7 separate regions of the Homo sapiens genome follow, and regions 2, 3, 4, 5, 6 and 7 are each linked to region 1. Evidence: promoter capture Hi-C in 16 types of primary human blood cells and fetal thymus (Javierre and others, 2016). All regions are on one chromosome and are shown on one strand. Each heading gives the region's core, a stretch centred on a gene start or on the middle of the fragment in contact. The rest is flanking DNA. Distances are from core to core; before and after follow the strand shown. Region 1 holds the start of CCDC59 (coiled-coil domain containing 59). Region 2 has its middle 3.8 kb from the start of CRADD. Region 3 holds the start of CAND1 (cullin associated and neddylation dissociated 1). Region 4 overlaps NEDD1 (NEDD1 gamma-tubulin ring complex targeting factor). Region 5 holds the start of METAP2 (methionyl aminopeptidase 2). Region 6 holds the start of SOCS2-AS1 (SOCS2 antisense RNA 1). Region 7 holds the start of NR2C1 (nuclear receptor subfamily 2 group C member 1).

Evidence for each region. The method cuts DNA at HindIII sites, captures the fragments that hold promoters and counts their contacts. A CHiCAGO score of 5 or more calls a contact.
Region 2: a contact is called between a fragment that was not itself captured here and the fragment with the promoter of CCDC59 in region 1, in 1 of 17 cell types (total CD8 T cells). The highest score is 6.0, in total CD8 T cells.
Region 3: the fragment with the promoter of CAND1 here is called in contact with the fragment with the promoter of CCDC59 in region 1 in 1 of 17 cell types (total B cells); the score reaches 18.7 in total B cells.
Region 4: a fragment that was not itself captured here is called in contact with the fragment with the promoter of CCDC59 in region 1 in 3 of 17 cell types (fetal thymus, total CD8 T cells and activated CD4 T cells); the score reaches 7.4 in fetal thymus.
Region 5: a contact is called between the fragment with the promoter of METAP2 here and the fragment with the promoter of CCDC59 in region 1, in 2 of 17 cell types (total CD8 T cells and non-activated CD4 T cells). The highest score is 12.5, in total CD8 T cells.
Region 6: the fragment with the promoter of SOCS2-AS1 here is called in contact with the fragment with the promoter of CCDC59 in region 1 in 1 of 17 cell types (total CD8 T cells); the score reaches 7.9 in total CD8 T cells.
Region 7: a contact is called between a fragment that was not itself captured here and the fragment with the promoter of CCDC59 in region 1, in 1 of 17 cell types (total CD8 T cells). The highest score is 13.2, in total CD8 T cells.

Annotation. Positions count from the first base shown.
Region 1 is chr12:82,357,069-82,360,840 of GRCh38, forward strand. It overlaps CCDC59 (coiled-coil domain containing 59), which reads right to left and starts at 1,319. Exons shown (of 4, transcript NM_014167.5): 1 at 1,155-1,319; 2 at 1-201. The coding sequence starts at 1,308. METTL25 (methyltransferase like 25) reads left to right here and starts at 1,461. Exons shown (of 12, transcript NM_032230.3): 1 at 1,461-1,756. The coding sequence starts at 1,498. RefSeq lists enhancers at 1,128-1,688, 1,199-1,758, 1,689-2,249. The HindIII fragment of the contact is 1,548 bases long and covers 1,084-2,631 here.
Region 2 is chr12:93,671,608-93,675,616 of GRCh38, forward strand. No RefSeq gene overlaps it. Among named protein-coding and RNA genes, the nearest start is that of CRADD, 3.8 kb to the right of the region's middle. The HindIII fragment of the contact is 4,045 bases long and covers 1-3,388 here.
Region 3 is chr12:67,267,217-67,270,810 of GRCh38, forward strand. CAND1 (cullin associated and neddylation dissociated 1) reads left to right here and starts at 2,142. Exons shown (of 15, transcript NM_018448.5): 1 at 2,142-2,569. The coding sequence starts at 2,502. RefSeq lists enhancers at 1,278-1,577, 1,718-1,977, 2,257-2,908. The HindIII fragment of the contact is 8,089 bases long and covers 1-3,371 here.
Region 4 is chr12:96,909,013-96,912,645 of GRCh38, forward strand. It overlaps NEDD1 (NEDD1 gamma-tubulin ring complex targeting factor), which reads left to right. Exons shown (of 16, transcript NM_152905.4): 3 at 740-883. The coding sequence starts at 748. Among named protein-coding and RNA genes, the nearest start is that of NEDD1, 3.6 kb to the left of the region's middle. The HindIII fragment of the contact is 441 bases long and covers 1,457-1,897 here.
Region 5 is chr12:95,472,848-95,476,392 of GRCh38, forward strand. METAP2 (methionyl aminopeptidase 2) reads left to right here and starts at 1,305. Exons shown (of 11, transcript NM_006838.4): 1 at 1,305-1,483; 2 at 3,224-3,331. The coding sequence starts at 1,333. RefSeq lists an enhancer at 1,122-1,521. The HindIII fragment of the contact is 1,745 bases long and covers 358-2,102 here.
Region 6 is chr12:93,569,078-93,572,922 of GRCh38, forward strand. It overlaps SOCS2-AS1 (SOCS2 antisense RNA 1), which reads right to left and starts at 2,321. Exons shown (of 4, transcript NR_038263.1): 1 at 2,188-2,321. It overlaps SOCS2 (suppressor of cytokine signaling 2), which reads left to right and starts at 3,598. Exons shown (of 2, transcript NM_001270471.2): 1 at 3,598-3,845. The coding sequence starts at 3,821. RefSeq lists silencers at 1,365-1,414, 1,475-1,664, 2,035-2,314, 2,675-2,724, 2,735-3,044. The HindIII fragment of the contact is 2,692 bases long and covers 783-3,474 here.
Region 7 is chr12:95,073,189-95,076,896 of GRCh38, forward strand. NR2C1 (nuclear receptor subfamily 2 group C member 1) reads right to left here and starts at 430. Exons shown (of 14, transcript NM_003297.4): 1 at 192-430. It overlaps FGD6 (FYVE, RhoGEF and PH domain containing 6), which reads right to left. Exons shown (of 21, transcript NM_018351.4): 21 at 3,561-3,708. RefSeq lists a silencer at 1-127 and enhancers at 17-517, 208-527. The HindIII fragment of the contact is 2,182 bases long and covers 874-3,055 here.

The DNA.
Region 1 (3,772 bases), core at 69-2,568:
CTTGTTCTGACAAAGGATGGTCGACTTTTCTTGCTTGCTTCCTATGTCTTTCCTCTTCAGCTAAATAGAGATGTTTCAGATTATCTGGGTATCGATCTGTGAATTGAGATTCCAGTGACGTTTGAGCCTTCTTTTCCTTCCGTAGCAATTTCTTGTAACTTTGCTGTATTTTCAGTTTTCTTCGAAAAGCAAAGCCTTGTCCTACATTGAGGAATATCATCCAAAATTACTTTCAGAGAAAAGAAGTTGAACGAAGAATGGAGCTGTTAATTACAAATGAAAACTTTTTTTACGTCATCACATTCAGATTCTAGTATTATATTTTGCTTTAAAAAATTATTTCAAGCAACAAATTTAAGCTGATGGATTGCATAGTAAGTTGGCCCTTTGCAAAAAGACCAGGCTAACAGTCATGCGGAAATCCAAGTAAGAATCTCAAAGAAAAACTGACCAGTTCAGACTGTTGCACAACTTGAGTTTACAGCTGTATTCACAAATCAAAACAAATTCCTTAGTTCATCTAAAACACTTAATCTGAGCCTTCAATAAATGCTTAAAAAATAGGAAAGAAAATGCCACATCTAGTATCTTGGACAAACTACATGTTTTCGAAAATGTTTCAACACGAAAGAAAAAGACAGTGTATGGTTGTCTGAAAAGCTAGCAATTATCGGAAGACTGAATTTAACATTTATATATTCCAAGTGGGATCTAAGAGACCTTACAGACAGCAATACAAAATGACAAACACAAATTAAAGCGAAGGCTGGAGGGCCTCGGGTATTTGTAATAAGGAAGAATTCGGAGCAGTGTTTCTGGCCCTGTCCTCCTCTCTATCCTTTACCTTACCACATGCGCAAGAGTTCACAGGGTCATAGACTCTCTCTGCTCAGTTTCTCAGGAAAAATATAGGAAAAAAGTTCTGATGAAATACAGGGTTACGTCAGAAAAGACGTTTAAATAATAGCAACACTGCTCCGTCTTCCTATCTAGAGCTCTGCGAAGCTCACAGCTTTAGCGGGCTCAGGAATGAATTCCCTTGCCCCAAGTAGGACCGGGTCTGGTTCCTAAATCCTTCTTCCAAGCTTCAGCGAATCTTATATCCTAAAACTTAGCAAGCCTGAGGATTTGCAAATGGTTGCCTTCTTACATACCCTCGCGAACGCTCCCCACGAAGGCTTGCGGGTGGTTAGGCCGCCATGTCTTCTGTCTCACATTCTTATTCCTGTACCCGACAGTGGAAACCCCTTCACCACGCGCCTCAATACCACCAGGCCGCCACTTCGCGGACCGCCTCACCGGCGCCATTGCAGCCGACTAACTGCGTCATCAGAAGACCACGACGGACGCCCACAAAATACGTCACCAAGCCGAAGCAATCAATCGCTCAGAAGGAATCCGGCTCGGAGCTCTACTGAGCCTGCCTGTGCTAATTTGGGCCGAGCTGGCGCCTCACGGCCATGTTTGCGCCACCTACAGCCTCGGAGGGTGAGCGTCATGGCGGCTTCTTGCCCTCTCCCGGTGACCCCGGACCTGCCCACGCTGCGTGCCAAGTTGCAGGGACTGCTGCAGTTCCTGAGGGATGCCCTGTCCATTTCCAATGCACATACCGTGGATTTCTACACAGAATCCGTGTGGGAGGAGCTGGTCGACTTGCCACCGGAGACAGTGCTGGCTGCGCTGAGGAAGTCAGCGTCGGAGACGGAGGCCCTGCCCTCAGAGACGCGCCCCCTAGTGGAAGCAGAGTGGGAAGCAGGTGGGTGGTGGGGTAGGCGGGGCGGGAAGGGAGGCGGAGGAGAAGGTCCCGGCAGACGAAGCGAGCCCCCTGGTGGAAGCCAGCAGAACCAGGTGCGTGGCGGCGGAGGCGGGGCGGCCCGCTGGGAAACCGAGGAGGGGTCGGATTAGTTGAGGGGTGGGGTGGGGATGTTCTTTGGAATCAGGATCACTCTTTCTTTGGGTGCTTGTGTATGTCCACAATTTAAAGAAAGCAGGAAACAGGGCAGGGGAGTTCCTTCATCTAGTAATTCCATAATAATTGACGCTAGGGAAACTAGGGGAGCAGTGCTCTCACAGGTTTTATAAATGCCAGCATGTGGTGGAAGATTACTCAACAGTTAATAAAGATAATTTCAAGTGGTGGTAATGAAGTAGAAAATAAAAACAGTGTAATGTGGTAGGGATTGTGTAAGGAGGCTGCCTCAATTTAGGAGGTCAGGAACATGAGAAGGCACTAGCTGCAGAGCCACAGGGAGGGGTTGCAGGCGGTGGGAACCGCAGGCTAGGCTTGGCTCTAGCCAGGTGAGGGGCTGCAGGTGCAGGACGGGAGGCAAGCAGAGGCCAGATGGCACAGGCCTTTCTAGGCCTTGGAAGGATTTTGGATTTTAAGTGTGACGGAAACCCTTGGGATTATTTAGGCAACATAGTGACCTAATTCACATTTGAAAAGATAACTGTGAATTATTTGAAGAATAGACTAGGGCAAAAGCTGAAGCTGAGAGGCCAGTTAGGAGACTACCTCAGTAGTACAACAGATGATTGTATCTTGGACTAGGATGGTATTCGGATAGTCACTATTTCATTTAAAAACTATTTTAAAGTACCTAATATGTGTCTTGAATTTTTGTAGGCTCAAGCTTTTCCTACCCTCAAGAAATGTAGATTCTTCTCAGGCAAGCATATTTTGGAAGTAGAATGATGGACACCAACAGGCTTCTGGGATTTTTACTTTCCTTCTAGACTTCCCAAAGTTACCCTTACTAGTGAACTTTATTCATTGAGCATTCTCTGAATGCAAAGCATCACTAGAGGGACCTCTTATAATAGCACTTGGTAAATACTGTTGTTGTTTTTTTAAGTAATTGTTATTGAAAAGTTAGGCACTTCTTCAGTTTGCTCTCATAATAAATATATGGCACTTATGATATGACAATTTTACTTAAACTCCAAAAGAGCAGAGTCTTTGTCTGACTTGTCAACTGATGTATTCCCAGCACTTGGTAAAATACTTGGCATACATTAGATACTGGATGAATATTTGTTGAATGGAGGAATTAATGAGTTACTCATGTTAGTTTTAAATAAATAAAATGAAACTACTCTCAAGTTTAGAGTGTAAGACTTTAATACGTGTTTAGCCTGGTCTCCAGACAATGGTAGAGTCAGATTGTCTTACATATTCTAATAATAATTGGATTATTTGATATTTACTATATACCCTGTAGTGTGCTAAGTGTCTTCATGTGTATTTTCTCTTTTAATCTTTACATCAGCCTTGCAAGATAGGTTCTGTTATTGTCGATTTGTGGAATTATAACTTGAGGAGTTAATTTGCAAGGGATATAGCTGATAATGGAAGATTCTCAAACCTGGGTCATCTGATTTGAAACTTTTTTAGTGCTGTAAGAAAAAAAGTATACTAGATAAGGGAGGAGTAAGTAAGGGGAAGAAGAGGAAAATGTTTGCATTTTTAAGTAAGTTGTCCTGGCAAGACCTCACTGAGGTGACTCTAACGCTGAAAAGATAAGAAAAAAACCGAGCCATGAAGATCTCTGGAGGGAAAGCAGTCCATTTAGTGACAACAGGAAACAGAAATGCCCTGACGAGGGAGCCTACAAGGTATGTTTAAGGAGCTGTAAGGAGACTGAAATAGATTTCCACTAGGGACTCACAAGGAGTATGGTCTTGTGTCCGGAATTGTTAGGTTCTTGGTCTCACTGACTTCAAGAATGAAGCCACAGACCCTCTCAGTGAGTATTATAGTTCTTAAAGGCGG
Region 2 (4,009 bases), core at 116-2,615, about 11 Mb after region 1:
GAAGAACATTTTAGTATCTTATGCAAAATAACACGAGAAAATGGCAGTTTATTAACTTATCTGATATTCCTTATAGAAAGAATCATATGATAAATTGCTGCTTGAAACCAGTGCCAGAGAAATATTAGTCCCTTTAGGTGACTCAGTATATTTTCTTTCTTTGAGAGATGAGAACTCTACAGTAATATGAATGATGTTGTCTTTTTACTGTGAGTGCCAGGAAACTAAGAAGTTATTTTAACATGTCCTCATACCTTTTTGTGTCCTAATACCTTAAATTCTTGATTTTTGTTTTTTTTTTAATCCAGCTGTTATTTATTTATTTATTTATTTACTTATTTGAGACAGAGTTTCTCTCTGTTGCCCAGGCTGGAGTCCAGTGGCATGCTCTCAGCTCATTGCAACCTCCACCTCCCAGGTTGAAGTGATTCTCCTGCCTCAGCCTCCCGAGTAGCTGGGATTACAATCGCGTGCCATCATGGTGGGGTAATTTTTGTATTTTTAGTAGAGACGGGATTTGGCTATGTTGGCCATGGCTGGTCTCAAACTCCTGACCTCAACTGATTTGCCTGCCTCGGCCTCCCAAAGTGCTGGGATTACAGGCGTAAGCCACTATGCCCGGACATCTTTTAAACGTGTGTAGTACAGTTTTATAACTCCTGCCAAGTCTTTGGAAGAAAACTAGGAGAAAGGTCATCTCCTCAGAGAGGCTTTCTCCGAAGACTGAATTAGAATCAGCTCCCATCTCCCAGCCCCTGAACCAGTTTATCTTATTAAAGCACCTTTCCTTCATTGCACTTATAGTAATTTGTAATTATTACTTTTGTTTTGTTTCCTTGTTAAAGTTTGTTTTCTCCACGGGATTCTAAGTTCCATGAAGACTAAGACCATCTCTGTCTTTCAGTGGGTTATCCCTAGCTGACCATAGCATGTAATCAATGCTCAATAGAAACTTCTTGTTGTCAATTATTAATAAATTATAATAGTCCTAGTATTACCACCACTAAAGTCTTATGGTGTAATGCTTCAAATTTCTAGAATTGTTGGAGTATTAAATTAGTACATGATACTCTGCATAATAATGTATTTGGCTCTTTTAAAAGGTTTTTGTAAATAGTCTCAGGATTTTTACAACAAACAGTAATTAAGATGAAAATTAGATAGCAAAGAATTGAATGAATCATTGGAATTCATAACTTAGTAAAATAATAATTTATTAGTGCAGATGATATTATCTACAGCATATCTTAATCAAAAGTTATACAGAAAGAGGCAACACTTGCATATTTCAAGTGAGTTTTTTTTTTTTTTAAGGATTTACAGTTACAGGGATAGATGTCTGTATTTCTTTTGACAAATTCTTATTTCATCTCTTTTTGGGGAGCGTTGGTCCAGGAAATAGAGACCATATGAAATTCTATGCTGCATGTCAAGAAAATAGCTAAGATAAAATGGGGACTAGGAATTTGGTCCCAGAAGTTTTCATTTCTCCCTGACTATGAGCAAGTCCTTTATGGAGTTCCTTTTCTCCTTCTTTCTCTTCTGATCCTCCCTCTCTTGCTCCTTCCCTGCCTCAAGTTGTCACACCTCCTTGTCTTCTTCAATCTGTAACAATTTCTCAGTCTTTCATGACCTTGACACTTTTGAAAGTACTTGTCAGATATTTTGTAGTGGCAAAAACCACAATTAGTTTTGCAACAACCTAACAGAATATCTCTCAGTTTGAGTTTGTCTGATGTTTTCTTACAAAAACACTGAGGTTCTGAATTTTAAAGGAGAATATTGCAAAGGAGATATGCCTTTCTTGTCACATCGTATTGGAGCACATGATATCTCCATGACTAATTACTGGGGAGGTTTAACCTTGATCACTTGGTTAAGGCGATGTTTGCCAGGTTTCTCTACTATCACGTTTTTCTTTTTCTTTCTTTCTTTCTATGTTTTATTAGTTATACAGGTGTGACTTTTTTTTAAACCCAAGGGTTTAAGAATTGTTTTATTTAGTTTCCAAATTTATGGGATTTATGGAAGCTATCCTTTTGTCAAAATATCTAATTTTATTGTATAATTATAGAGTACATAGTTTGTATGCTAGTGATTTTCAGGAATTTATTAATGCTTCTTTGTGACCTGATTTATGATCTATTTTAATAAATGTTTCAAGTATGCTTGAAAAGACTCTGGTTTTCCCCATGACTTAATTTCTACATCAATGAAACAGGAAGAACCAAAACATCCAATTCCTTTTATTTATTTTTTGAAGGCTGCAAAACCAAAGACCAAACCGAAAGAGAAAAATACTGCATTTGTTCTTTTTGACTCTTTATTTTGCAAACTCACAATAGGGATATCTTGACACAAGTAAACATACTAGGGGAGAGAGAAAAATGAAAATATCTGTCCTTCCTGTGGATTCGTTACCACTGGGTAACAGGTGCTTAATCCTCCGTGGGGGCACAATTTCAGATTACAGAGGGTCTGGCCAGAGCGGAGGAGTAACCACCTGTGATAATGATTCTGATCTGTGTTCCATTCCTTAGAAGCCCTCTGGCCTTAGCTAATCTGTCTAAGTAAAGTTGGGTCTTTGGTGTACTGCCATGAAGTATCGCTGTATGCTGAGGTGGGGTGGCTGATGGCAGTGGGCTAGTCGTTCAGCCTAGTTGCTTAAGAGACAGCATGGATCCTCATCTGTATTTGCCATGGGAAGAGGCATTCGATGATTAAAGACTTCACGCTGCAGATTTAAGTCAGATCTTTAATGGCCACCCTTTCAGGTTGTTTACCATAGGACGCCATGCCCCTCGGCTGCTGCCCTGACACTCTCCTGCTGTCTCTGGCTGCTTCTCTTCTGTGAACCCTCACGGATCCTATTGTTGGTTCCCCACCTCCTCCTGGGCATCATCATCAAGGCTCACCTTCTAGCTTCTAGGAGATCTCAAGCCTTTCCAAATATGATGAGTCATCAAGAAATATGAAACTTTATATGGGCGTTTATTGCGCTATTTGTTTCAACTTTCCTATATGTTTGAAATTTATCGAAGTTCACAGTTAGAAAAAAATCCACTTGCTTTTCCTCTCTAAAAAAGTTAGTATAGGTTGATGATCCCTTACCCAACATGCTTGGGACCAGAAGTGTTTTGGATTTTGGATTTTTTGGGATTTTGGAATATTTGCATATACATAATGAGGTAACTTGGGGATGGGACCCAAGTTTAAGCACAAAACTTATGTTTCATATATACTTTTTATACACATAGCCTGAAAGTAACTTTATACAATATTTTAAATAATTTTGCACATGAAACAAAGGTTTGTGTTTTGACTGAGACCCATCACATAAGGTCAGGTGTGGAATTTTCCACTTGTGGCGTCATGTTGACACCCAAAAAGCTTCAGGTTTTGGAGCATTTCTTTTTCTTTCTTTTTTTTTTTTTTTCTGAGACAGGGTCTCTCTCTGTCGCCCAGGCCGGAGTGCAGTGGCATGATCTTGTTTCACTGCAAACTCCACCTCCCGGGTTCAATTGATTCTCCACCTCAGCCTCCTGAGAAGCTGGGACTACAGGCGTACACAAGCATGGCTGGCTAATTTTTTGTATTTTTTGTAGAGATGGGATTTCCCTATGTTGCCCAGGCTGGCCCTGAACTCCTGGGCTCAAACGATCTGCCTGCCTTGGCTTCCCAAAATGCTGAGATTACAGGTGTCAGCCACCACTCTCAGGCAGGTTTTGGAGGATTCTGGATTTCAAATTTTTGTATTAGGGATGTTTAACCTGTAAACTTCAACGCTTGGCAGTGTTGCAAGTGGTCTGCACTTTATCTGGATGAAGACAAAGAATGGTGCTAACATTTGTCTATGAACAGATGGGAAATCTTGCTGAGGAAAGGACAATGATTCTCAAGCAAAAGGGGAAAAGGGAGAGAGAAAAGAGAGCACCTGGAACTCAAGAGTATCAAGAATGGGAGGTGGCAACAGGATGATTTGCAAATAATATTTGGCTATCATTAGAAC
Region 3 (3,594 bases), core at 892-3,391, about 15 Mb before region 1:
AAGTGGCTGTAAACATGATTTATATTTAAGGAATCTGACTCCAAATATTATAGTTCAGCTGGAAATTCAAAAGTGAAAGAATTTACACACAGAAAAAGACAAACCATGATTTGCTTTCTGAGTGGACACAGGCTAAAAGAAAGTATTATTGATAATACCAAATGACTGAGGCCTTGAGGTCCACACATACAAAAAAAGACCTGCTTCTTTGTGTGTGTGTGTGTGTGTGTGTGTTTTACATTAAATATGGTGGAAAGGCTATTCAGAGCAAAAGGCAATTAATTGTGGCTGAAGCACTAAGGACAGTTTGATGAAAGATATATTAATCATGGCAGATTGGTAAAATGAAATATGGCATTACTGGGGAGAAAAAATATCATATATTACGTATATATTATTATTATCATTTTAAGACGTTGTCTCACTCTGTCGCCCAGGCTGGAGTGCAGTGGCACGATCTCGGCTCACTGCAACCTCCGCCTCCTGGGTTCAAGCAATTTTTCTACGTCAGCCTCCCGAGTAGCTGTGACTACAGGCGCGCCACCATGCCCAGCTAATTTTTGTATTTTTAGTAGAGATGGGGTTTCACCATATTGGCCAGGCTGGTCTCGAACTCCTGATGCCCTGATCTGCCCGCCTCGGCCTCCCAAAGTGGTGGGGTTACAGGCATGAGCCACCGCACCCGGCCTTTATATTACATACATTCAAGTAGAAGGATACATGAGAGCAGATCAGAGGTATGTGTGAAATTTAAACACATATTATGAGGCTAAACCAAGTTTCATCTGTTTTATTAACTCCTATTGCCTGACTTTGAAGTACTCAGTAATAGTTGATGAATACAGAAAACAATGGTAAAGGTCAGGTAGATTTGATCGGATTTGAGTTATGTGTTAGTAGAGAGCTATTTAAAGGTTTGTTGTTGTTTTTAACAGGAGTATCAAGTGAGATTGATTTTTCATCTCTTCACCAGGCTCTCTGTTCTTTTAGAAAGGCCTGTCAGCTAGCTCCATCCCTAACACTTTCAGGGATGTTGACCCCTAGCTGGCAAAACTTGTGTTTAAAATCCCAAATATTAAGCAGATGAAAAACTTGGATACTAAATACTTTCATAACTCATCTCCACGAATTTGTACGTCTGAGGGAGCAATACACAGCTGCAGGTCCATCAAGGCCACAAAAGCTAACTACAGAGATAGTCTTTTAGCTATTTTGAAATCAGTAGGGCCTGACTACAGCCATCTGTCGCATACCCATTACTCTTACTAAGGTCCTGCTGGCGTCAGAGAGGTGGTTCTACGATGCACGGTAGGAGTGTGTCTGGCCAGAGAAGTGGGGAGGCTCAGCTGCCTTGGGAGGTGCAAGTAGTAGCGCTAGGAAGCTGCTGCTAGGCCTCTGGCAAGAACACCAACTGATCCGCAATGCGCCTGGCCAAACTGCAGCAGCCTGCTCTGCAAATACTGCATAACAGAAAAAGCCTGTATTGGAGAATATAAGAATCCGCGGCAGAAACGGAGTGCGCGACGATTCTAAGGTTTTTACCCAGCACGGCTCCCCCATCAGACTGCAAATCCCAGCATTCACTCCTTCCACGGGAGCCAATGAGGAAGCTACTAGTTCCCGCAGCCAATCACATTCTGAGCCAGTGTATCACCCGACTGAATTCTGGGATTTGTGGTTTTTACGTGGCAACATTACACCACGGTGGCTACGGCAATGCAGGCCACGCGTCTGATCCCAAACGACACCTCCCTGTTATAAATTCTTATGTTGGTTCCGCAAGCTAACTCCTTAACTGTCGTTACTCCCAGGCTTCCTCCTTCTCAAAGCTCGTAATCTTTTTCTCTTAATGTCATTAAACAATCAAGTTATTTTCAGATTAAGGCCCACTTGCTCCACTCGTCCCCTGTCCCTTAACCGTCGCTTTAGAGTCTCGCGAGAACAGCCCCTTTTTTTTGTGTTGTCATGCCTCCAAAAGGCGGGTCACATGAAAACTGACACAGGCTTCAGCCAACCGAATTGTTTTTTAACTCTCTTCTCCACAGCGTGCGTGGGGAGGCCTCCGTGAACTCTGACCTTAGCTTTCCGTAGCGCCCGCGTCTGCCGCCCCCGCCCCCGGAGCGAAGGAGGCGGGCTTTGGCCTTTTGCCCTAGGGAGCGAGTGCGGAGCGAGTGGGAGCGAGACGGCCCTGAGTGGAAGTGTCTGGCTCCCCGTAGAGGCCCTTCTGTACGCCCCGCCGCCCATGAGCTCGTTCTCACGCGAACAGCGCCGTCGTTAGGCTGGCTCTGTAGCCTCGGCTTACCCCGGGACAGGCCCACGCCTCGCCAGGGAGGGGGCAGCCCGTCGAGGCGCCTCCCTAGTCAGCGTCGGCGTCGCGCTGCGACCCTGGAAGCGGGAGCCGCCGCGAGCGAGAGGAGGAGCTCCAGTGGCGGCGGCGGCGGCGGCAGCGGCAGCGGGCAGCAGCTCCAGCAGCGCCAGCAGGCGGGATCGAGGCCGTCAACATGGCGAGCGCCTCGTACCACATTTCCAATTTGCTGGAAAAAATGACATCCAGCGACAAGGACTTTAGGTGAGGCCGAGATCCGACCCTCACCCCACCTCGGGGTTCTCGCAGCCGCGGCCCTGGCCGTCACGCAGGCCTTGCCCCACCCCTTCGGCCGTAGCCGGTAGCTTCTCTGCCCCGAAGTCTCCAGCCCACCGGTCCGCTGGCCTCCCGATCCCTGCGGAGCCCCTTTCCTCTCCCCTCTTGCAACCCCCTCCCCCCATTCTTTCTCCTAGGCAGTTGCCCGCCGCGGTCTCTAGGCCCCGTTTGCTTGTCTCAGCGCCCCCACATCCTTCCCTGCCCCACCAGGAGGCGATTCTTGCGTCTCAGGTAGCGCGAAGGGGCTAAACCACCCACCATTGTGGAGAAGGGAGTTGCTCTAGGCCGGGAGACCGGGCGCCGGGCCTATTCGCTTGCCATCCTGCGGCGCTAGGCCGCCTTGCTCGCTGGGGCCCAAGCTGCTGCCCACTCGGGGACCCGGCAGCCTCCTCTCTGCCCGCAGGTGCGCGTGGGCCTTGCTGCATTCAGGTGGAATGATGAACTTTTGCGCTCTTGGCTGATACATAGTTCTTTTGTGGATTATTAATTTTCGTGAAGGTGGGAAGAAGGGGGAGGGGAGCCAGGATGGAGGAAACTTCGCTCATAGGGTTTTCCCGCCAGCATCACTGTCAGTTCCTCTTGTCAGGTAAAACCAACTTAGGAACTCGGGGTTTCAGTCTCATGTCCTCATATCCAAAATCACTGCCAAAGGGGTGGATTGCTGGATCTTAATCATAGCAGACGGATCTTCAAAAGGAAGAGATGTTTAATACGGACCTGGTGAATATGAAGCTTTATTACAGCAGTTCTGTTCAGGAGATCGGTACTGTTGGTTCCAAAGTGTTGTAATATGCATAGTGAAGATTTGTTATATTTTTACAGGTTATCTTTGTTTTTATTTTTCCTTGCACGCTTCGGTGATTGTTGCATTCTTTCCCGCCTCCCATCTCTTCACAAATAAGTTCTCAATCTAAAAAAAAAAAAAAAAAGAAAAAAAAATCGCTTATTTCCTT
Region 4 (3,633 bases), core at 427-2,926, about 15 Mb after region 1:
CTAAAAATACAAAATTAGCCGGGTGTGGTGGTGCATGCCGGTAATCCCAGCTACTCGGGAGGCTGAGGCAGGAGAATCACTTGAACCTGGAAGGCGGAGGTTGTGGTGAGCCGAGATCACACCATTGCACTCCAGCCTGGACAACAAGAGTGAAACTCCGTCTCAAAAAAAAAAAAAAAAAATTCAGATATTAGGAAGTGCTATGAAAAAAATGAAATCAGGTATTGGGATATAGGGTAAACTGCTAAGTCCCTTACCAGGTAAGGAAGGGACTGCGTTAGCCAGGGTGGTCAGGAAAGGCCTTTCATAGGAGGAAACATTTGAGCTAAGACCTGAATGATGAGAAGGAGATGACCATGGGAATCTGGGGAGAACATCTTAGGCACAGGGAGCAGCAAATGAAAAGACACTGAGGTGAGAATGACTTTGCCTTTGCATGAGGCAGAGAGAAGGCCAGTGAAAAGAAAGAGGAGAGTTACATGGGGGCCAGGACATGTAAGGCAGGCTAAGGAGGCTGGATTTCATTATCATTACTGTGAGGAGCCATTGGAAGGGTCAGCTAAGAGAATGCGACCTGGCTTATGTTTTAGGAAAATCACTTCAACTGCTTTGGTGACTGCACTGTTTGGAACAAAAATGAATGAGTTAGAGCCACTTGTTTTAGATTAGATTTTGACCTTTTTTTGAGTATGTCTATTCTTAAATGTTTTTAAAATACATTGTTTTAAACTATTTGTAGGCGCAGTCATGCAGGAAAACCTCAGATTTGCTTCATCAGGAGATGATATTAAAATATGGGATGCTTCATCTATGACATTGGTGGATAAATTCAACCCACACACATCACCACATGGAATCAGCTCAATATGTTGGAGCAGCAATAGTATCCTTTAAAAAAAAAAAACACACACACACACACACAAACCGCTTATTAGGTTAAACAACCACTGTCAATGAAACTTTTGCATGTGCCTCATACTGAGTAATGTGTTTTGCATTGCTACCAAGGATAGATAACGTAAAATAGTAATTTACAAAACAATATATCATATGAATGCACTCTGATTTTATCTGTTGCGTTCATTTAAAAAAAATTTAGTTACAACCCACTTCATTTGAAAACACTGCTATTAAAAAAAGTATATTCTGTCTACACCATAGAATTAGTTATCAAAAATTTCTTATTGAACCAAATGGAATAAGGTTGGTAGTTGTGGAAATAATTCCAAAAGGTTTTGGAATGAGTTTTTGCATCTACATTTGGGTATTTGTGGATCTGAACTGAAAATTAAAGACAGAACTTGAAGGCAGAAGCAAGTTGGGGAGGAGATAAAAAATTGCCCAATATCTCCATCTTACTAATGTACTCTCCATATCTTCCTTCCTCTCTGTGTGTGTGATGAAAATTACATTTCCTAAACAGACATAGTAAAGTTACCTAGATTGAACTTTTCTAAGCTTTTTATGTTTCTGATTGACACCTTCCCTGTCTTGGTGAGCTCCTCAATGTGGATAAAATAAAATGAGGGAGTGAAGACTGTAAACTAGGGTTTCTGAACCCTGTGCTATTGACTTTTTGGGGCAGAAAATTTGTTGTGGACCTTTCCTGTATGTTGTACCACGTGGAGGTTTATTGGTCTTCACCCGTTAGGTACCAATAGCCTCTAGTTGTGACAACCCAAAACGTTTCCAGAATTGCCTGAATCACTCCCAGTAGAGAACCACTGCTGTGACCACAGTGCTCCTATCACCTTTTATGTGAAAATGTTTTATGTAATTGGTATGTTAGAAATTTTCTTTTGTGAAACTCATACGCTATTTCTTAACAAATTAAGATTTAACATTTATCTGATTTTTATCAACACCAAAGTATTCTACTTTCTGATAAAAAAATCAAAGCTTTAAAATGTGACTGGTTCAGGAACAAAAATATTAAAAGTTTTATATGACTTACTATTCTTGCATGTATATAACAAGAAGGACAAATTTTCTTACTGAATTAAATTTACCTCCTTATCATTCCTTGATTTTGCAGTAAAACAAATTACTTTGGTACTCTGTTAATCAAACTCATGGTGAAGTGACTACATTTTTGAAGGACTTTCCAGATGTGTAATAGGGAAAATATTTTAAAGAGAGCGACAAGTATATGAAGTTGCTGTTCTCTATTTTTAGATTTTCATTATGTTTAGAGCTTAATTTTCCCTCTTACTATATAAGAGAAAGGTAGCAATTTGTAGTAAGATTATTTTTTGGTTGACTTTTGTTTTAAGTTTTACTAGGAGTTGGCATTTACTGATGTGCTACTTAATAGTCTAACAACAAAACTGATGTAGCTATGAGATAGTGTTGTATGACTTTTGGAAATTGGTCTTACAGTTTTCTTGCATGAGCAGATGTGCACTGAAAGCCTTCATACAGTCTTATTCTTAATAAGGCTTTGATCACTTCCATGGAGGTTAATTACTGAAGAACAAGGAGTTCCCAGCCTTAGCAACTTGGGGTCCACATAGTATAGATTCCAAGAATGGGGTTAATGTGAGACACCAGAGAGATTAGTTTTTTGTTTCTTGTCCTTTAACTTACGTTCCTCACTTTCTCATGATTTCTAAAACTACAAGAGAAATAAAAAAGAACTAGATTACCCACCCACATTATGTTTCAGTCCTTTTTTTTCTATATTCTAAGGAGAAAAGTAGTGGTAAACAGGAAGAAGTCAAGGAAAGGGAAATGGTTTTTCTCGCTATGGTAATATCTAGGTAGGAATGATTTGATTTGCATCATGTATCATAATAAAATTACAGTCTATGCTCTGTTTACAAAATACCTGAAAGTTATACAGAACATTCAAAAGTTAATGCAGTTAGGGATTCTGAGTGTCTAATTAACCTTTCTCCATTGCTTTTACTCACAGATTTTAATTGCTAAAAAGCACAGATTTAAACTTCTGATATTTTAATTTGTTATGGCTCTCAAAATCAGACTCTTATTCTTAGTTATATTATTGTATTTAATCATTTTAGTTTTAAAATAGTTACTGTTTTGTGTTTACTGATTGTTCCATTTACAATTCGTGTAAAAGAAGGTAAATAAAATTACATTTTATTTAAAAATTAAAACTCATAACACAATTCCTATTTAACCATACATATTTATAAAATATTTGCAAGTTACTGTAATAGTCATTCTTAATTTAAGATTGAAACATTCTATCACAAAAATTCATGTTCTGGGAAAATATCAGGCCTTTTTTTTTTTTAAATAGAAAAATAGGAGACTAGTGTGGATGTTTGCTTCCTAGTTTAGATTGTTACCAAGCACTAGGTTAATAAATATCTTGAACAGTTTCTGTAGATGAAAAGGTTGATTGATATTTGCTGATGCTGCTTTTATCATGCTCTCATTCTTGAAGGATAAAATTAGCCCTTCTGGCCTACTCTTTGAAAACAGAGTAGTATTTCACGTGGGTTAAATAGCTTTTGAGTGATAGCAGAGCCAGAAAGAAGGCTAGTTCTTCCCTGCAGTAGTAGCAAAGAGAATTAGTCTTAGTAATTATTAATAGTAATGTGAGCCATTTTTGAAAGCTACTCTGTAAGCTATACTCATTGCTTGTCTTCTTAGTGTGTTAGCTTT
Region 5 (3,545 bases), core at 55-2,554, about 13 Mb after region 1:
GGGGTTTCACCATATTGGCCAGGCTGGTCTCGAACTCCTGACCTTGTGATCTGCCCACCTCGCCCTCCCAAAGTGCTGGGATTACAGGCGTGAGCCACAGCGCCCGGCCGGTTTACCAACTTTTATATTGCCAGCAATCAACTAGGGAAAACAATTTAAAATCTAAATAGGGATAGATTTAAAGAGATAAAGATCTGTACAAGAATAAGAGGAACAGTTTTTATTACTATTGGATAGGTGCTGCCTGAAGCTTTAAGACAGAGAATGTACATTTATGCAGCTGCAGTCAGAGCCTGTGTGAGGTTTACTGTAAACTCACTGGCAATAAGGCTCTTAACGACATTTTGATGCCCATGAAGCTTGGTGCCTAGTTTAAAACTAATGAAAACACCTAAACTCTCCAGGTGGACAAAGCCATATTCAGGAGAAATTGAGAAGGAGTTGGTGCAGGCAGCCAATCACAATCCACTTACGCCACAAACTAAATCTCAAACTGCGGTTTGAACATGAGGCTCAAAACATAAGAAGTAAAGAAATGGGCAAAATTCAATTAGTTTCTGGTGAAACGTCCTAAATCCAAAAGAAAGGTGACCAGAAATAGAGAAAACGGAGTGTGATCTTTTGCATTAATGAGAGAGACCGTGTCCCCGTGTGTTAAAACCTGTCATTCTTGTCCTGAATTGGAAAGTGAGCGGAGTGTGACGGGTTCCCATCTTGAACCGTCCGGGGTTGAGTAGTACAATAAACTAACACGGAACTCCAGCTTCCAAAATTCTCTCCAGTGCCTACAGAGCCTCGCGGAGAGCTGTGATTGTGAATGTCAACGCAGATTTGATTAAATCTCTTAGATTTAAGAGATATGTGGAGTCATGACAATAGAAATGTGTACAAGTGAACACATTTCTTAGCCCGTTTCCCCACTGCCTGTGTGATTTATAAAAACGCAAATATAAAATATTTCCGTTCCAGCAGAGACGCCGCTTGCTACGGCGGGTTGCCCGTCTCCACAGGTATCTCCGGCTGACTCTAGAGCTCAACTTCCCCTTTAAACTTCACCCTGCGCTTGCCGATTTGCTTCGGGAATGCCCGAGGCACCGGACGAAGCAGTCGGGTCTGGCCCCAGTCGACTCCAGCCAGGCGGGGCTCCAAGCCGAGACTCCTGCACGCCCGGCCCGAAGCTAGCCCGACACCCTCAGCTGAGTCCTCCGCCGTCCCAGCATTCCCTGCGTCCCTACCATCGAGAGCAGCTTCCGGCGTGGCTGGTGTAGGCGGGTGGAGAAGGATCGGGGCCCTCGCCGCTCTGTCTCATTCCCTCGCGCTCTCTCGGGCAACATGGCGGGTGTGGAGGAGGTAGCGGCCTCCGGGAGCCACCTGAATGGCGACCTGGATCCAGACGACAGGGAAGAAGGAGCTGCCTCTACGGCTGAGGAAGCAGCCAAGAAAAAAAGACGAAAGAAGAAGAAGAGCAAAGGGCCTTCTGCAGGTAAAGAGAGTTTTATGTTTTCCCAGTCCCCTCCGGGAACGGCTGAACTGTTTGGCTCAGGCCCGTTGAGGGGGCCGGGACCGGGGCCCCAGAGCCCCGACTAGACTGATTCTTGGGCCTGACAGGGTGGCAAAGCCGGGCTATAGATTCCTAGTCTGAGAAGAGGCGTCATCTCCTCCTGTGGGACTAGAGGGCTGGTGGGGGAGAAAAGAGTGCCTGAGGTTGGCGTGTGGTACCTCTGGGGTCGCTGGGCCCGAGCCCCTGTATTACCAGAACTCAGCTCCCACGCACATCGTGGCACGGTCTTGAGATTGTGCGCAGAGCACAGCCCTACCATCTTTCGCGCGATTTGGCCGCCGCCTCAAAAATCCGATTCTGATCCGTATTGCCGCGTCTTTGCTGGTTTGCTGGAGCAAGCTAGGACTTATTTTCTTTGGGGGTGGGCAAATGTAATGGAGAGCACACCTCCTCCCACTATCCCGTTTCACGTTGGGGTTGTTGCAGCCTGCACTTTTGGGGTGTGTGTACATGTGTGTTTGCCCGCGCGCTCATGTCATTAATTGCAGAATTTGTGGTGGTGATAACGAATTTTCACCTGCCTAATCCCATAGCATCGCCAAGCTTTAGGGCCTTTAGACCTGAATTATGATACCAATTGCAGGCAGTGCAGATAGGATATTCTGTGGCTCAGAATGGAACTTCTGAGGTCTTAACCTCTAAATCCACTGGTAAGGCAAGGAGAACTGCTGAGAGTTTACAGTTGGATATTATGAACTAGGAACTTACATATTTTGAGAAGTCTGTGTTTTTGCTGCACAAGCTCCTTCACCTTAATAAAAATTATTTTTACTTGTTTCTAATTAAAATCGCCAGAGAAACAGAAAATGGAGAAGTCAGAAGCGATTAAGATGGAATTGAGAGAGGTCGAAGAGAGCTAATCTTCATCTTTCTGAAATTTTGATTAGATAGGAATGGAAGGAGAGTTGTAGCGTTGCTGGAACTCTTCCAGAGCAAAATTTGTTACTCTGGTGGCTGTTCCTGGATTTCGAGTGAAATTCAAACACTGCTGTTTGTCTTGTAAGGTGTTAAGCTGACTGATCCTAATGTATTTTTAACAGTTGTATTTCTTAATATGAATTCTCTCCAGTAGCCAGAATGTCACTTCATTTCGTGCTACCTGATACTATTAATGCATGTAACATATTGCTCTTATAGGTAGGTTATAATCACTTCCAGAGCAGGGGCCTGGTCTTGTGCTTAGATATTTGAGCGTTTTAGTTTTTTAGTAATGGACTGTCTTTGCCTATTTATTTTGACTTTACCCAGCCCATCGTGATATCCTTATTCATGAAACCAGGCTGCCCCGGGGTGTTGCACATGAATCTTTTTCCTAAGGCCTTCAGCATTTATTACCTATCTGGTGTTTAAGTATTTGTTAAGTCTAATTGCTGACCACTATTACAAGTTAAACTACTTGAGGATAGAGACCAGTTCACGCTGTTTATCTTTTAGCTGCTAGTGTGTGTAATGGATATTTTGTTGAGTAAATTAATGAATGGACAATACTGTGTAGGTATGGAAGATTTTTCTGTCATTAAACGAATTCTGTTATGTTCACAATAATGTTTCTGTTTTTGTTTCCTGAGGAAAGGATTTGTAAGTTTTCCAAGATCATTAGAGCATATTCTAGTGGGAAAGTGTCTGTATTAGATTTGATTTCTGCTATTTTATTTTGATCAGCAGGGGAACAGGAACCTGATAAAGAATCAGGAGCCTCAGTGGATGAAGTAGCAAGACAGTTGGAAAGATCAGCATTGGAAGATAAAGAAAGAGATGAAGATGATGAAGGTAAATGGTTAATTTGATCTTTGTGGTTAGAAAAGCTAGAAAATGTAGCCGGGTGTGGTGGCACACACCTGTAATCCCAGCACTTTGGGAGGTCGAGGCGGGTGGATTACATAAGGTCAGTAGTTCGAGACCAGCCTGGCCAACATGTTGAAACCCCATCTCTTCTAAAAAGACAAAAAAAAATTTAGCCGGGTGTGGTAGCACACACCTGTAA
Region 6 (3,845 bases), core at 1,071-3,570, about 11 Mb after region 1:
TTGCTTGAACCTGGGAGGCGGAGGTTGCAGTGAGCTGAGATCACGCCCTGCACTCCAGCCTGGGCGACAGAGGGAGACTTGGTCATGCTCCCTCCCCGCCCTCCGTCAGTTTTAGGAATAAATACCTTTTTATTTAAGCTAAAGTGTGGGTACACCCTTCCTCTAGGATTCTCCATCAAGGAATAAGAAGCCATATTAGGACAATTTAGAGGGCAGTTAACCCTAGTAGACATAGTGGTTCTTAAAAGGCTTGGGGCCTCAGACTGTACACAGGCTTCACATGGAATCTGATTTGTTCCTTTATCCCAGTCCCTCACCCAGAACCCGAATCTAGCCCTTCATGTTATAAAAAGGGCCAGAGGTCCAAAGAGGGTAAGTGCCTTGTGCAAAATTATTCAACTACTTTGTAGAGGATTTTAACTAGGGTTCAGTTAGCTCCGCCCACACTATAAAAGGCTCTTTCTAAAAAACGAAACATGATTAAGGGCACACGGCTCCAGCGTTAACAAAGCTCTTTGTTAGCTGGGAAATGCCCCCCTCCCCGACTCATCTGCTTATCATCTGCATAGAATTATGTACTCAAAAGCAGGAAAATTATTGAGAAAACCATTGGTCCCCGGCTGCAGACCCCAAGGTTGGGAGCTGGTTCCCGTTTCCTCCCAGAGCCGGCAGGGGGGGCACCAGGCAAAGTTTGCAAGACGCGCCTCCCTCCCACCCCTCCCCCTTCCTCGCCCAACTTCCCATAGCCGCGGCCTCAACTAAAAGTGGCCATTGACCTTTCAAGCTTTCGAGCAGTGATGCAATAGAATAGTATTTCAAAGAAAAATGCTTATCGAAATTTTGGATCCGGTTTTCCCGTGATTGTTAAGGGTTTCTTTTAAAAAGTAGGTCACATTTCAAGTAGGTCATATTTCGGGGGCGGGTGCGCAGACAAGGAGATGAGTTTCCACTAAGGCCAGGGGGCCTCCAACGGGGTTGGAGGTGAGAATCCCAGGTAGGGTAGAGGTGCCGAGATCCTTCCGAATCCCAGCCCTGGGGCGTCAGCCCTGCAGGGAATGGCAGAGACACTCTCCGGACTGAGGGAACCGAGGCCAGTCACCAAGCCCCTTCCGGGCGCGCAGGTAAGGGCGCCCCCTTAGCAGCCGGCGCAGGTGACCCGGGCGGGCCGCCGGGTCTACCGGAGACGTTGGAGCAGAGGGGAGGAGGAAGGGAGGAGCCGGGTGGGTGCGGGTGACAAGGAGCCGGAGCGCCAGGGGGAGGGGACTAAGGACGGCCGGCGCCGCTTAAGGAGGCGCTGCTCTCCCGCTCGCTGCCTTCCAGGACCTGATCAAGGGGACCGCCTCCGGTCCCCGGCCGTGGGCACCGGGACGAGCACGGCGTCCCCACGCCATCGATGTGTCTTAGAGCCGGAGAGTCTGGTTTCCGAGGACCCACAGTCGCTCCTGCACGCCCACCCCCCGCAAAAGTGCGGCCAGGAGGGTCGCATCGAGGGGGCGCCGCCGGGATGTTTAGAGGAACCCACCCCCGTGGCAGGCCAAGGGCCAAGGATCGCTATCCTTCCCTGAACCCGGGCGCTCAGCTGGCCCGGGTAGGGGGCAGGCTCCGGCCGCCGAAACGGGGTTGGCTGTAGCCGGTGGCCGGGGAGATCTCTAGCTTGCGCCCGAGCACCCCGGGGTGTGGGGCCAGAGGCAGGCCGACCCCGGCGTGCACACCGCCCGCCCTGCACCCGAGCGCTCTCACCCGGTCTTCCCTGAAGCCTGTGTATTGCGACCGAGCCTCTTTAAAGCAGTAGCGGGGCCCGCGGTCACGTGAGGCCGATTCCTGGAAAGTTCCTGGAAAGCCGCCTCCGCAGCAGCCGGGCGGGGCGCGAGCGGAGCGCTGACTGGGGAGGGAGGCGGGGAGCAAGGGAGGCGCGTCGGTCTGGGAAGTCGCGCGCACTCGCTGCTCCTGGGACCGACGTTTAACTCTTGCCAAGTCTCGTCGCAGCCGCCGCGGCTGGCGGGCCTTGGGCTTCCCCTGAAGCATGAGCCCTCTCGCCCGCAGCCACCCTCACCGCGTGGCCCGCGGACAGTGCGCGCCGGGGTCCCGGGTGCACAGCCTCAGGATACCCCGTGCCCGCAGCTCGGGCGCCCGCGGCAGGTACCGGTAGTGGGGGAAGCCCGAAGGCTCCGCCCCGAGGAGAGTTACCGGGGAGGGCGGCGAGGCGCGGCCGCGTGCGCCGGGGAGCGGCGGACGGCCTGGGCTTCCGCAGCTCGGAGCGCCGGGGAAGAGAGAGTCCGAACCGCGGCTCTGCCCCGCGGCCTAGCGTTGCTGCCTGCTTTCTCCAGCCCCTTCTCGGCGTCTGGAAGTGTCTGGAGTTTCTTTTTTTTATTTCCCCTAAACTGCCATTCAAATTAATAATCCTCCTAATAACCTGATCTCCCGCTCCTCCCCACCGGCCTGCCTCCCGCCCTCGCTCCTTCCTCCCTCCCTCCCTCTCTCCTTCCCACCTCCAGGGTCGCAGCCGGAGGGAAACCCGGCAGCAGTCCGAGAGTGGAGGTGTCCCAGCCCGTAGGGGGCGTCGCCGCGCGGTGGGGGATGGGGTCGAGGCAATGATCCTCGAGGCTTTTGTGTGCCCTCTGCGCACGGAACTCCGACCGCCGCCTCCGAGCGCGGGGCTGGTTGCATCCCCGGGCATCTCGTTCCCAAATTAAACGTTAACGGGGGAAACAAGGGCAGACGCCCCTCCTCTCCCGGGCCCCTCCCACCTCCCCTTTTCCCCCCACCCCCCCGCCCCATGTCCGCTGAGGAGGCTGCCTGGTGCGGAGGCGGCGGCGGCGGCCGCGGCCGAGGTCGAGGTAAGAGCGCGGCGTTGGTGGTTTGCATTTTCCGCAGCGCTCGCGACCGCCCGCTCGGCCCCGGCCTCGCCTCGGAGCCCCGCGAGGGCTGCGCGCTCGGGCCGATTCCTCGACAGCGCCCGCGGCGGCGAGAACCACCGCAGCCATCCTGGTCCGGGAGCGACCGCCGCGGCACCCCCAACCCCGCCAGAGCGGGCACCAGGAAGCGGGGGGAGGGGAGCGAGGAGCCTCCCGGGCGGAGATGCGGCAGCTCCCGCACCTCCGCACCCCGGGTTGGTGCCTCGGGGCCCCGCAGCGCTTTAGGGCGGAGAACCAAGTTTGTGTGGGTGCTTCTTCCTGGGGGCCCTCGGGCTGCGCCAGGTGTGAGACCGGAATGCCAATTTGGGGAATCTCTCCTGTTCTTTCCTTTTTAATTTTTTCTACTTGTCCTTGACAAGGGCCTATTCCCACTGGATCTGCAGGTGACTATTTGCTCTTCCTAGGTCGCCAGTCTTTGATTTCAGCTAGTGACCCTGGGCGGGAAGACACCCTGTTCACCCTCCTCCTGACCTCCGCCCCCCACCTCTTCAGCCAACTTTATCTTGGATCTCTGCTCTCTTTATCTTTTCTCTAGAGCTGGGCCAGGGCGCTAACTGGAAGCTTGGGGTTAAATGGTGCAGGAACGTAGAGGCGGAGGAGTCCCTGGGATTTTCCACGTCTATTTCCCCACCCCCACCCCAGCCGCAGGGGTCCAGTTTGGACTGACCCAACCTCCCGCTTTCTCTTTGTAGGCGATCAGTGGGTGACCGCGGCTGCGAGGGACTTTGTCATCCGTCCTCCAGGATCTGGGGAGAAAGAGCCCCATCCCTTCTCTCTCTGCCACCATTTCGGACACCCCGCAGGGACTCGTTTTGGGATTCGCACTGACTTCAAGGAAGGACGCGAACCCTTCTCTGACCCCAGCTCGGGCGGCCACCTGTCTTTGCCGCGGTGACCCTTCTCTCATGACCCTGCGGTGCCTTGAGCCCT
Region 7 (3,708 bases), core at 715-3,214, about 13 Mb after region 1:
GCCGCAGCTCCGCGCTCCCAGCCGAAGTCGAGCAGCCCCAAGCGGCGCTCCCAAACTGAACGGCTCCGCTGGCCGCAGGACGCCGGCCGGGGGATGCGCTGGGACCGCGTCCGTTGGCGGTTGGGGTGAAGGGCACCCCCTGGCCCCCGCCCCCGACGCGGTCGCTGGTGTCCCCACCCAGCGTTTCTTACCGGCGCTTTTGCGCCCTGCTGACTCCGGCGTCGGGCGCCGACGCGACAGTCCCGCGGCTGCCACTCGTGGATTGGGGGGCGCTCCGGGAAGAGAGGTTGAAGAAAGCCGACGGGATGTGGGATCGAGATTCACGGCGGAGAGAGCTTTCTGTGTTTGGGTATTTCTGGGGGGTCAGAGTTCGTGACCTCTTTCTCGGCTCGGCGGCGCGCTATCCCGCCAGCGCCTGCGCATTAGCAACGGGGAGAAGCGGCGAGAGGAGGTCGTGACGTTCCCAGGGTGGGGTGGAGGGATCGGAGGGCCGAGCAGCGGCTCTGTGAGTCCACTGCCCCCTTTTGGCTTGGAGGCAGAGTGCCCCGCCAGAGCTACGCGTTCCCAGCCAGGTAATTTTTGAAGCCACGTGCAAAGGTTTAAGCATCGTTTGCCAAAGGTGGGCATTAGGGGAGGTTTTGAGTCAACGTTTTAGATTTGAGTAATAAATAACCCTCTGGGTCTTAGGCATATCTGTTTCTAATTTCTGGAAAACTGGGCTCTGGGGTAGAGTCCAATCATATTTAAACTTTTTTTTTTTTGTATTACACTTTAAGTTCTAGAGTACATGTACACAACGTGCAGGTTCGTTACATATGTATACATGTGCCATGTTGGTGTGCTGCACCCATTAACTCGTCATTTACATTAGTAAGCTTTATATATAATGACAAGCTGAGGCCGACTCATGCAAATGGTAAGGCAAAGTTTCACTTATAAACTGTTGTGAGTAAAGAGACATAATGGCTAAACAGGGCAAGAATATAATCACTAGAGACTGGGCACGGTAGCTCACGCCTGTAATCCCAGCAAGTTGGGAGGCCGAGGCGGACGGATCACTTGAGCCCGGTTGTTTGAGGCCAGCCTGGCCAACATGGCGAAAACCCGTCTCTACAAAAAAATTAGCCAGTCCTGGTGGCGCGTGCCTGTCGTCCCAATTACTTGGAGGCTGAGGTGGGAGGATCACCTGAGTCAAGACGGCAGTGAGCCAAGATCACACCACCGCACTCCAGCCTGGGTGACACAATGAGTCTTTCTCTCTCTCTCTATATATACACACACACATATATATGTATATTCCACATCCTCTCTATAATATATATATTATTATATATTGAGGATTATCCTCAATGGCCGTTTTTTGTCTGTTTTGCTCAGTGATGTATTACCAAGCACATAGGACAATGCCTGCTATTCAATAATGATGTATGAAATGAAAGCCAGGCAAGTGGCTGCTGGGAGGCCAAGGAAAGATCACTTGGGGCCAGCAGTTGGAGACCGGCTTGGGCAAGATAACAAAACCCTGCCTCCACAAAAAAAATTTTTCAAATTGTGAAATGAAGAGACATTGGTGGAACATCGCATTCTGACAGTGGCCACCTGTAGTGGCAAGGTGTGGCAGGAATAACTGCCCTGTGTGCAAAGTACTCTGCGCTTTAGATTTTGAAGCATTCTTGAAATTTCTAGTTTTTTTTTAAATCTCCTTTGTTTTGTCATGAAATTTCTATTTTATCTAGCTTAGGTCGGCACTGTAGGAAAGCAGCCACAAACTCAGGGCAGAAATCCAAGGAAGGAAAAACAAACGTTTGCTGGGAATGAGAACATCTCTGTTATTTCTCTCTGGAACTAGGCAGACGGACAGAGATCAAGGCATGAAACAATCCCTAACAAGTAAAAATATGCTTTATCCCTCATTAAAAATCCACCTCTGCTGAGCACAGTGGCTTCTGCCCCCAGAGCCTTGGGAGGCTGAGGTAGGAGGCTTGCTTGATGCCAGGAGTTTGAGACCAGCCTGGGCAACATAGTGAGACTCCATCTCTTAAAAAAAAAAGAAAAAAAAAAGGCATGGTGGTGCAGGCCTGTATTCCTAGTTACTGAGGAGGCTGAGGTGGGAGGATTGCTTAAGCCCAGGAGTCTGGTCCAGTGTTGGCACCATTGCATTCCAGCCTGGGCGAGAGTGAAACTTTTTTTTTTTTCCAACCTCTACCTTTTAGCATTATTTGTTGTGTATTTGGTTTGGTTTTAAGGGAGACCCCTGCCAATACCATAAGCTGGTCCCAAAGGTGAAAATTATGAAAGTATAGTCACGTCAGGGATATGTTCTGAGAAATGAGTCCTTAGGCAATTTCATTTTACTCTCATCATAGAGCGTACTTATACAAACCTAGATGGTCTAGCCTAGACACACCTAGGCTGTATGTTGTAGTCTGTTGCTCTTAAGTCACAAACCTAGGACAAACCCGTACAGCATGTTACTGAATACTGTAGGCAGTTGTAACATAATGGTAGGTATTTGTGTATCTAAATATATATAAACATAGAAAAAGTAAACTAAGTCCTTTTAAAAAAAAAGTGCAGTAAAAATAGGGGATTATAATCTTATGCAACCATTATTGTATATGTGGTCTGTCCTTGACTGAAATATTGTTATGCAGTGCATGACTGCACTATAGGCCTAATGGATACAGGCAATCTGAGACCTCTTCACTATTCTTGGTGGAGAATATGTATGCCTATAGTGATGCTTGTGGTTACCCCTTATCACCCAATTAATTCACTTAAGTCACAATAAGTTGACTTGTTAAAACTTGGAAGTAGAAGCCATTTTAGGAACATCATTTGTAGGTGAAGAAGCGTTTCCATTAATTATGCTTCAGGAAAAGAGGTAAATGAAGTTTATTTATTTTTGAGACAGAGTCTCACTCTGTTGCCCAGGCTGGAGTGCAGTGGCTTGATCTCAGCTCACTGCAACCTCCGCCACCTGGGTTCAAGAGGTTCTTGTGCCTCAGCCTCCCGAGTAGCTGGGATTACAGGCGCACACCACAATGTCTGGCTAAGCTTTTTGTATTTTTAGTAGAGACAGGGTTTCACCATGTTGGCCAGGCTGGTCTCGAACTCCTCACCTCAAGTGATCCGCTCGCCTTGGCCTCCCCAAAGTGCTGGGATTACAGGCATGAGCCACCGTGCCCAGCCGAAGTTCATCTTTAAATGTGTGACTCTAGCCGAAGTTCATCTTTAAATCTATGATGCTGGCCAGGCTCAGTAGCTCACGCCTGTAATCCTAGCACTTGGGGAGGTTGAGGCGGGTGGATCACCTGAGGTCAGAGTTTGAGACCAGCCTGGCCAACATGGTGAAATCCCGTCTCTACTAAAAATACAAAAAATTAGCCGGGCATGGTGGTGCGCACCTGTCATCCCAGCTCCTCAGGAGGCTGAGGCAGGAGAATTGCTTGAACCCAGGAAGTGAAGATTGCAATGAGCCGAGATCGCGCCACTGCACTCCAGCCTGGGCGACAGAGCAAGACTCTGTCTTGAGGGGGAAAAAAATCACACCAACAAAATATATTATAGTAAATTTATTTTGTATAAATACATATTAACATTATTTACAATGCTAATTTTTTTATTTATAAAGTATATATGGACAAAAAGATACAAACTGTTATCATTTTAAGTACAAAGTATTTCTAGAAATACATTATAAGCCAT